Linked DNA regions of Homo sapiens: region 1 is linked to region 2. Evidence: promoter capture Hi-C in 16 types of primary human blood cells and fetal thymus (Javierre and others, 2016). All regions are on one chromosome and are shown on one strand. The core of a region is centred on a gene start or on the middle of the fragment in contact, and the rest is flanking DNA. Distances in the headings are between cores, read along the strand shown.

The links. Contacts are between HindIII fragments. The CHiCAGO score rates a contact against its expected background, and 5 or more counts as called.
Region 1: a fragment that was not itself captured here is called in contact with the fragment with the promoter of STK32A in region 2 in 5 of 17 cell types (naive CD8 T cells, M2 macrophages, total CD4 T cells and 2 more); the score reaches 7.5 in naive CD8 T cells.

The regions. Positions count from the first base shown.
Region 1 is chr5:146,540,528-146,544,547 of GRCh38, forward strand. No RefSeq gene overlaps it. Among named protein-coding and RNA genes, the nearest start is that of PPP2R2B-AS2, 21 kb to the right of the region's middle. RefSeq lists an enhancer at 104-604. The HindIII fragment of the contact is 7,338 bases long and covers 1-4,020 here.
Region 2 is chr5:147,232,824-147,236,807 of GRCh38, forward strand. STK32A (serine/threonine kinase 32A) reads left to right here and starts at 2,203. Exons shown (of 13, transcript NM_001112724.2): 1 at 2,203-2,376. STK32A-AS1 (STK32A antisense RNA 1) reads right to left here and starts at 2,036. Exons shown (of 4, transcript NR_147190.1): 1 at 1,890-2,036. The HindIII fragment of the contact is 14,744 bases long and covers 1-3,335 here.

The DNA.
Region 1 (4,020 bases), core at 192-2,691, 690 kb before region 2:
GATCTTAGCGTGGCCCAGTGATTGCCTTCCAGGTCTAACTCCTCTCTGGTGAGAGAGTGTGCATGACTCGCTCTGTACTGGCTGTAACATCTTCTACCAATAATGACCTTCCATGTTGTAATGAAAACTATGTGTAATGGGAATTCCTGGGGTGAAAGGATCCTCTTGCATGGAATGAAGTAGGTTGGGTCAATTTATGGGGAAGCCACCATCTGCAAAAGCCTTCTAACTCAGCTCCCTCCTTTCACTTTTGTTCTACTTGACAGCCAGAGTGATCTTCAGAAACTAATGTCCCTAAGTTCTTATTTTTTTTTTTTTTTTAGATGGCCTCTCACTCTTGTTGCCCAGGCTGGAGTGCAATGATGCAATCTCAGCTCACTGCAACCTCCATCTCTTTGGGTTCAAGTGATTGTCCTGACTCAGCCTCTGAGTAGCTGGGATTACAGGCACCTGCCACCATGCCTGGCTAATTTTTGTATTTTTAGTAGAGACGGGGTTTTACCATGTTGACCAGGCTGGTCTCGAACTCCTGACCTCAGGTGATCCATTTGCCTTGGCCTCCCAAAGTGCTGGGATTACAGGCATGAGCCACTGAGCCTGGCTATGTCCCTAAGTTCTAATGACGCTCACCCTCTCGCTGGAATATGCTGGTACTTTTTCCCACTTTAGAGTCTTTGCATTTGCTCTTTCTCCAGAATGTTCTTCCTGGAGACTTCATGGCAGCCTTCCAGTCACATGCAGGTGCTGGCTTAACTTTTCCCTCAGAGTGGTGGTCCCTCAAATGTTCCTGTTATTGCAGCTAAAGTCACCCAGCCACTCTTCTGTTGTCCCCTTTTAGTCTCTTCACAGCACGCGCCTAAACGTTCTTGCTTGTTATGTCCATGTTTCACATGCCTGCTACACCAGGACACGAGCACATGGGCTCCTCTAGGCAGAGCCCTTGTCTTGTTCACGTTGGTGTTCCTGCCCAGGACAGAGCCTGGCATCAATGCGTGGGGCTCCGGCAGATAAAGGCTTAGTTTACTTGTAAGTTTGTTCCTTAAACTCTGATTGTCATTTACACTGTAAAGGAAAAGTAATAATATGTATTATAATAAAGAACTATTAAATGCTAAACATTGTGCTAGCTACTTGACCTATATGATCTTACACAAAGCTCACAATTCCCATTGTGCAGATGAAGAAACTGAGGTAATTAGTGTAGTCAGAACTTGAGCCTAGATTGTCCCTCTAAAGCTCTTGTCCTTCTCACTGCCCTAGAATTCAGTGTTGCTAGCAATTTTCTACTCCTGGGATGCGATAGAGTCGGGTTCTTTAAAGATCCACGGGCAAATAGTTCCCTACATAAAAAATATAGGGGTGGAGTGAGGTAGGGGGTGGTGTTATCAAGCCAAATGCCTTCAAGAAACCCTGGATGCAGTCTTACCCCACCATTGGTAAAATGAAATGACTCCCTTCTTCTTGGTGTTTGGGTTGTAGTTAATCTGATATTTATTTCAACCTTTTACAGGAATAAAAATAAGAAAGCAGTCACACATTTTGTTGGTATCTTTAGAGTGGGCGGCATGGCATCTGCCCTGCTTGGCTCCTGGCTTACCCTGTTTTGCCACTAAGTACATTTTCCTAGGCCGGCCCCTCTTGGCAGGAGATCACACATGTGTTATGTTGGTGTATTTAAAAAGTGGGTAATTCATTTGTTAAATGAATACGGCAATTATTAATTTCAATTTATCCTGTTTATTGGGAACAGCTGTTCATTAACATTTATTTAACTGCTAATTTTAGAGCCAAACTAATTACCTCAAATACACAGCGCAGTGGTGTCCTGTATAGAGGAGCGCTCGCTCTAACTGCCCTGTGTGCCAGAATAACTAGCTGGCCCTCGTGGGTGCCGTTCTGCAGGTGACCAGGTGGGGGCTCACCTCAACCGGAGATCGGACTGCAGGCTGCAAACAGGTCCGTGGGGCACAAATCTATCTACAAAGTATCTTAAGGCCAGAGTGGCAAATTGTCCCCAGGGGCCAGGAAAGTCGTAAAAATGAATGAAATGGGAAGGTGAAAGAACTTGCACCGCCTCACAGGTCTATCTTTGTTCTATTACTTTTGATCAGCATAAAGTTATAAGAATCTTTCTTTACAGCAAGAAAGACGATTTCAAGCATGATGATAAATATCATTGTCCCTAACCCTGAGTTTCCAGAAGACACTGTTGGATTCTTTAAAGATCCATGAGCAAATAGTTCTCTAAATAAAAAATATAGGCGTGGAGTAGGGTGGGGGGTGGTGTCATCAAGCCAAATGCTTCCAATAAACGCTTGGTACAACCTTATGGCACCCTTGGTAAAATGAAATGACTCCCTTCTTCTTGGTGTTTGGGTTGTAGTCAGTTAGCTGTTTATTTTTTACAGGAGTAGAAATCTACCTTTTACAGGAAAATAGGTGGGCACAGTAGCAAACTGGAGAGCACACAGTTGGAAGGGGGTCTGGGGGGTCAGTTGGGGTCAGGATGGGGGGTAAGGACATGAGGATTGGGAGCTGCCTCTTAGAGGAGTCAGTTGTTGTCAGCTGGGAAGCTGGGGCCCTTTAATTTTTCAAGGGAAACCAAATACATGGATTTTTATGTGGAATTTCCTAAATTTTAGATATTAGCTCAAATTTTATTTATTTATTTTTTTACATAGGGACTTGCTCTGTCACCCAGGTTGGAGTGTAGTGGCATGATCATGGCTTACCTTGACCTTCTGGGCTCATGGGATCCTCCTGCCTCAGCCTCCTGAGTAGCTGGGATTACAGTTGTGGACCACGACGCCTAATTTATTTATTTATTTATTTATTTTTTGTAAATACAGGATCTTGTTTTGTTGCCCAGGCTGGTCTCTAACTCCTGGGCTCAAGCAATCCTCTTGCCTCAGTCTCCCAAAGTGCCTGATAATGGGTATGAGCCACCACGCCTGGCTTAGCTCAAATTGTAAAAGTATACTGTGTAGAATAGCAAAATACACCTGTGGCTTGAGGCCTGCCCATTTGCAGCTGCTAAATTAAAAGTTTTCTCTGTGGGTAATACTCAGGTGGCTGGTGAATAGACATGTCTTCTGAGGCCAAATCTAATTTATTTGGCTTTCAATCATTGTTTTTTTTTTTTTTTTTTGGTCTAGACAACTGTCTCTCTTACTAAAAAAATTAATGTTAAGCAAAATTCTTAACATTTCCGTGCTTCATTTTCCTTATTTTTAAAATGAAAGAGTTGGATTTTGTTTGCTTACTATTAATCTACAACTTTAATAGGACTTAAAACTATACAAGAAACACAAAACTTACAGGGGACATTAAAGTGGTAAAGCAATTTTTATGTAGGAGCCGTTTTATTAAATACTTTGGATCTTTTATTTTTTTTCCTCTCTTAAGGGCAAATCCCTTCTTCTATAGACAAGACCATTGTCAAAATGCAGATCCCAGGTCCCCACAAGTCTGAGCCTGTATGGTTGGCATCTGGTGGTAGGCACCCCAGTGACCCTGATGCAGAGGGGCCTGGAGCACACTTTGAGGATTTGTGCTAGATTTTGCTTGTTGGCACTCAACATCTGTTTCCATCGCTCTCTGTGTCCCCAGACTCCTCCATCACAGGGACCAGAAGTCTGAAAACCTACACTCCCCTGACCCTTTGGCCACTAGGATTCTAGATGCAACTTAGATTCTGGCAAGTAGGAGCCCTTGAGATTTTGAAGGTAGAAGGAAGACAAAGGCCTTTTTTTTTTTTTTTTTTCCTGAGATTTTGTGCTGCTGATATGTGTGAGTGCTGGCAGCAGCTGGGCTCCAGGTTCATTCTGTGTTATTTAGCTTCATGGTGTGGGGAAGCTGTGGCTTCAGCAGTGGCAATAGCCACACAAGCCACAATGGCCTGGCCTCCTAGTGACAGTCACTGCTCCTGTCCTCTGGTTGGTGGCTGTGGTAGTTTATAATCTGGAGGTCAGACCCTGTTTCAGTCACCATAGGCAAAGTTCTGCTGTGGTAATAAATAAC
Region 2 (3,984 bases), core at 953-3,452:
GGTGTACAAACATTCTTTGATATTTTTCCTGCTCTTTACGGGTTGAGAGGATGGTATTACTCCCAGTATCGAAGAAAGTGTACACGCCCCCTGTGATACTGTTCCTTATATCTAAGTTAAAAAAGAATGATATTACCTTCAGTATCGCAGGGGGTGGGGTGTACACTCCGCCTGTGATATTATTTCTAATATCAAGGGGAAGAGAGAATAATGTTACTCCCAACAGCGCAAGGGATGTACACAAATGGTGATATTGTTCCTAATATCCAGGGAAGGAGATGATGATATTACTGGCCATATCGCAGGAAGTGTACACCCTTCTGTAATATTGTTTCTAACATTCAGTGGGGGAGAGAATAAAATTGATCCCAATATCGCAGAAGGTGTACAGACCCCTTTGATAGAGTTTTTAATGTACAGGGAAAAATAATAATATTATGCCCAATGTCGCAGGGGTTGTAACCCCCCCGCCCCCCACTGTATATTCTTCCTAATAGGCAGCATAGTAGAGGTTTATATTACTACCAATATCGCAGAAGGTGCACACACACCTGTGATATACTTCCTAATATCCAGCGGGAAAGAGGCTGCTATTACTTTCAATATCGCAGTGGGTGTACATCCCCCCTGTGGTTTTGCTCCTAATATCCAGGGGGGAAGAGATGATATTACTGACAATATCACAGGGGGTGTACACCTCTTCTGTGATATGGTTCCTGATATAAAGGGGGAAAGTGGATGATATTACTCTTAATAACGTAGGAAGTGTACACCCACCCTGTGATTTTGTCCCTAATAACCTCATGGGGAGAGGTGATATTACTCCCAATATTGCAAGGGGTGGACACCCCACAAGTCATATTGTTTCTTAAATCCAGGAAGGGAAAAGATGGTATTACTACCAATATTCAAAGGATGTACAGAACGCATTTCTTATTGTTCTTAATATCCAGGTCGAAAGGAGATAACATTACTTTTAATATAATAAGGGTGGTACACCCTGCCTGTGATATGATTCCTAAAATCTAGAAGAAGAGAGAATGATATTACTTCCAATAATACACTGGGTGTGCAACCCCCTTTGATATTGTTCCTAATATCTAAAGAAAGAGATGATGATATTACTCCCAATACTGTAGAAGGTATACACCGTCCTGTGATATTGTTCCTAATAACTAGTGGGTGAGGGCATGATATTATTTCAAATATCGCAGTGGCTTTACACCCCTTCCGTGATATTTCTCCTAATTTCCAGGGGGTGGAGTACGAAGTTACTCCCAATATAGTAGTGGGTGTACACCCACGCTGTCACATTTCTACGAATATTCAGGGAAACACAGCACGATAGAACTCCAAGTCTCGCAAAGAGTGTACACCATTTTGTGATATTGTTCCTAATAACCGGAGGTGGATAGGATGCTGTTAGTTTCAATATCGCAGGCTGTGTACACACACACTGTGAAATTGTTTCTAATGTCCAAGAGGGGAGAGAATGCTATTAATTCCCATATAGCAAGAGGGTGAGGCACACCCCGCCATATGGGGAGTAATAGGACCCCCCCTCCCTCCCTGGCTACTACGAGCCACATCGCTGGGGTGTGAGGCACCCTCCTGCCATATGGGGATTAATAGCGTCCCCCTTTCCCCCCCGACTATTACGATCCACATCGCAGGGGAGTGAGGCTTCCCCCGCGATATGAGGAGTAATAGCACCGCCCTCTCCCCCTCAACCCCCCGGCTTTTAGGATCCACATCGCAGGGGGGTGAGGCACCCCCGGCGATATGGAGAGTAATAGCACCCCCCTTCTCCCCCCCCCCCCCCCCCGGCTATTACGATCCACATCGCAGGGGGGGTGAGGCAGTTCCCGTGATATGGGGCGTAATAGTACCCGCTGTGCGTCCTGGTGGCTCCGGACCCGGCCCAAGCGCGGCGGGACCTCCATCCGTAGCCCTCTCCCCCAACGTCGCCCTCCCGGGGTCCTTGTCTAGTCTCAGCAGGCGGCAAACGGACCCCAGGCGTCTGGCGCTCACCCAGGAGACTGCCCAGCGGTTTCTGGAGAGAGCGCTAAGCGGAGACGCCCGCTGGCAAGCAGATCCCGCCTCCTTCCCTGGCCAAGGAGCCGCCCCTCCGGGGTAGCTGTGCGCTGGGCGGCGCTCGGACCCCTTGGCAGCCGCAGGTGCCTCCCCAGCCCAGCCCAGCTCAGTCCAGCGCAGCCCAGCCCAGCCCAGCCCGGCGCTCGCAGCCTCCGCCGCTTCCGGGCAGATAGGTGCCTTTTCTTGCTCCTTGCTCTTGGAGTTCTTCTCTTAGTCCCTGTTCCCTGGATGAAAGCATCGCTCCGAGCCTCATGGGAGGAATGAAGGAAGAATCGAGACTAGGTGAGTGGTGGTCTAGATTTAACGAATAATAACAATAAACCTGCATACTAAGGGTACTGTTGGGAAGCTAGGAAGTGCAAGGAGAAGAGAAGACAAAGGCTGCTGATCAAGATAACTCACAAAACTAAATGCAGGCTAGGGCCAATTCCAGCTATTTTGCACTCCATCCAGGTTCCCCTGCCTGGCACTGACTCATGTGCAGACCCAGACAGACTTCAATAAATATTTGCTGGGTTGAGACAAGTGAGTGGAGGTGTTTCTGCTTGTTCTCCAGCATCTAAACAAGCAAAACCTAGCTGCCTTTGATGATTGCTTCATCTCCACAAGGACTTTTTCCCCCAGGACTTAAAAAATAAAATGTGGTGTATTCACACAACGGACTGCTATGCAGCACTTAAAAAGCTAAAATCAGAGCTGTAGGGATCAGCATGCCTGTACCTAGATTTCAGAAGTATGATGGCAGATAGACACAGCAAGATGCAAAATATATCCACTCTCTCATGCCATTTAGGTGACTTATTTTAAGACACTTGTCATGTTTGTAAAATCATAGAAGGGGGACTGTAAAATGTTTATCACATCCGTGATTGTGGCTGTCTTTGGAAAGTGTGAAAGGGAAATCAATTGGACTTTAGGATTAAGGTGGAAATAATATTTCCCTAAAATGCTTTAAAAATAAAAATGATGATATAAAGATGACCAAATATAAACAATTGTTAACTGAGAGTGTTATTAACTTGGGCATTTTTCATGTTTTTGCCCCCTATTTTTAAAATATTTCTTAAACTAAGAAGTTCTGTTTTTCAAATGCAAACAAAATAAGTTGTGTCTATGCACATTCTGTGACAATGAAACCTAAAATGTTTAATCAAAAGTTGCAACTTTCTTGCATCACCTCCTATGTTTTCCAATCCTAGAAGACCACACCTCTTTATCTAGGGAGGCTTGGTGGTTAGAGAAGCTTACCTGTTGACAACCCCCAAATTACAGGCCAAAGATGAAAGGTTGGTATTAGGGAACTATTTCCCAGTTAATAATCTGATAATCGGCCAGGTCAGGGTAGACTCTGAAAACTCCCTGTGTCCCTGCAAGACAAATTTCTCCTCCTTTTACATTTCATATGCTTTGGATTTTCATTTTCATGGATGGTAGCTGTCCTCTTCACATCTCAAAATGATGCTTAGGTAACACTGCAGACCTAGTGCCTGGAGATCAGGAAGGGCTGGGGGGTTGGTAAAAGAGAGTCCTACAGCTCTACTGGGCTCTTCAGCAGAATGGAAAGGACATGTCTCCATTTTCCTGCGAGAGAAAGGTAGATTTCTTTCTGAATATGAAAAAAAAAATCTAATTTGGTTATCCACATGGGAGAGAAAATGAAAAATAATTTTAAACTGGATTGTGTATGTTAGGTGCAATGAAGAAGATACTAAACGACCACCCAGTGGTTCCATCTGCTTCCCCCTTCCACAGACACACACAAAAATGGTTCCCTGTTTGCATATTATCTTCCCACTAAAAATCACTTGGTCCGTGGTGAACAAAATTGTGTGCACATCAGAATGAAATTCTGAAACATGGAAAATTGCGATAATATTCCTTCCTCTTTCT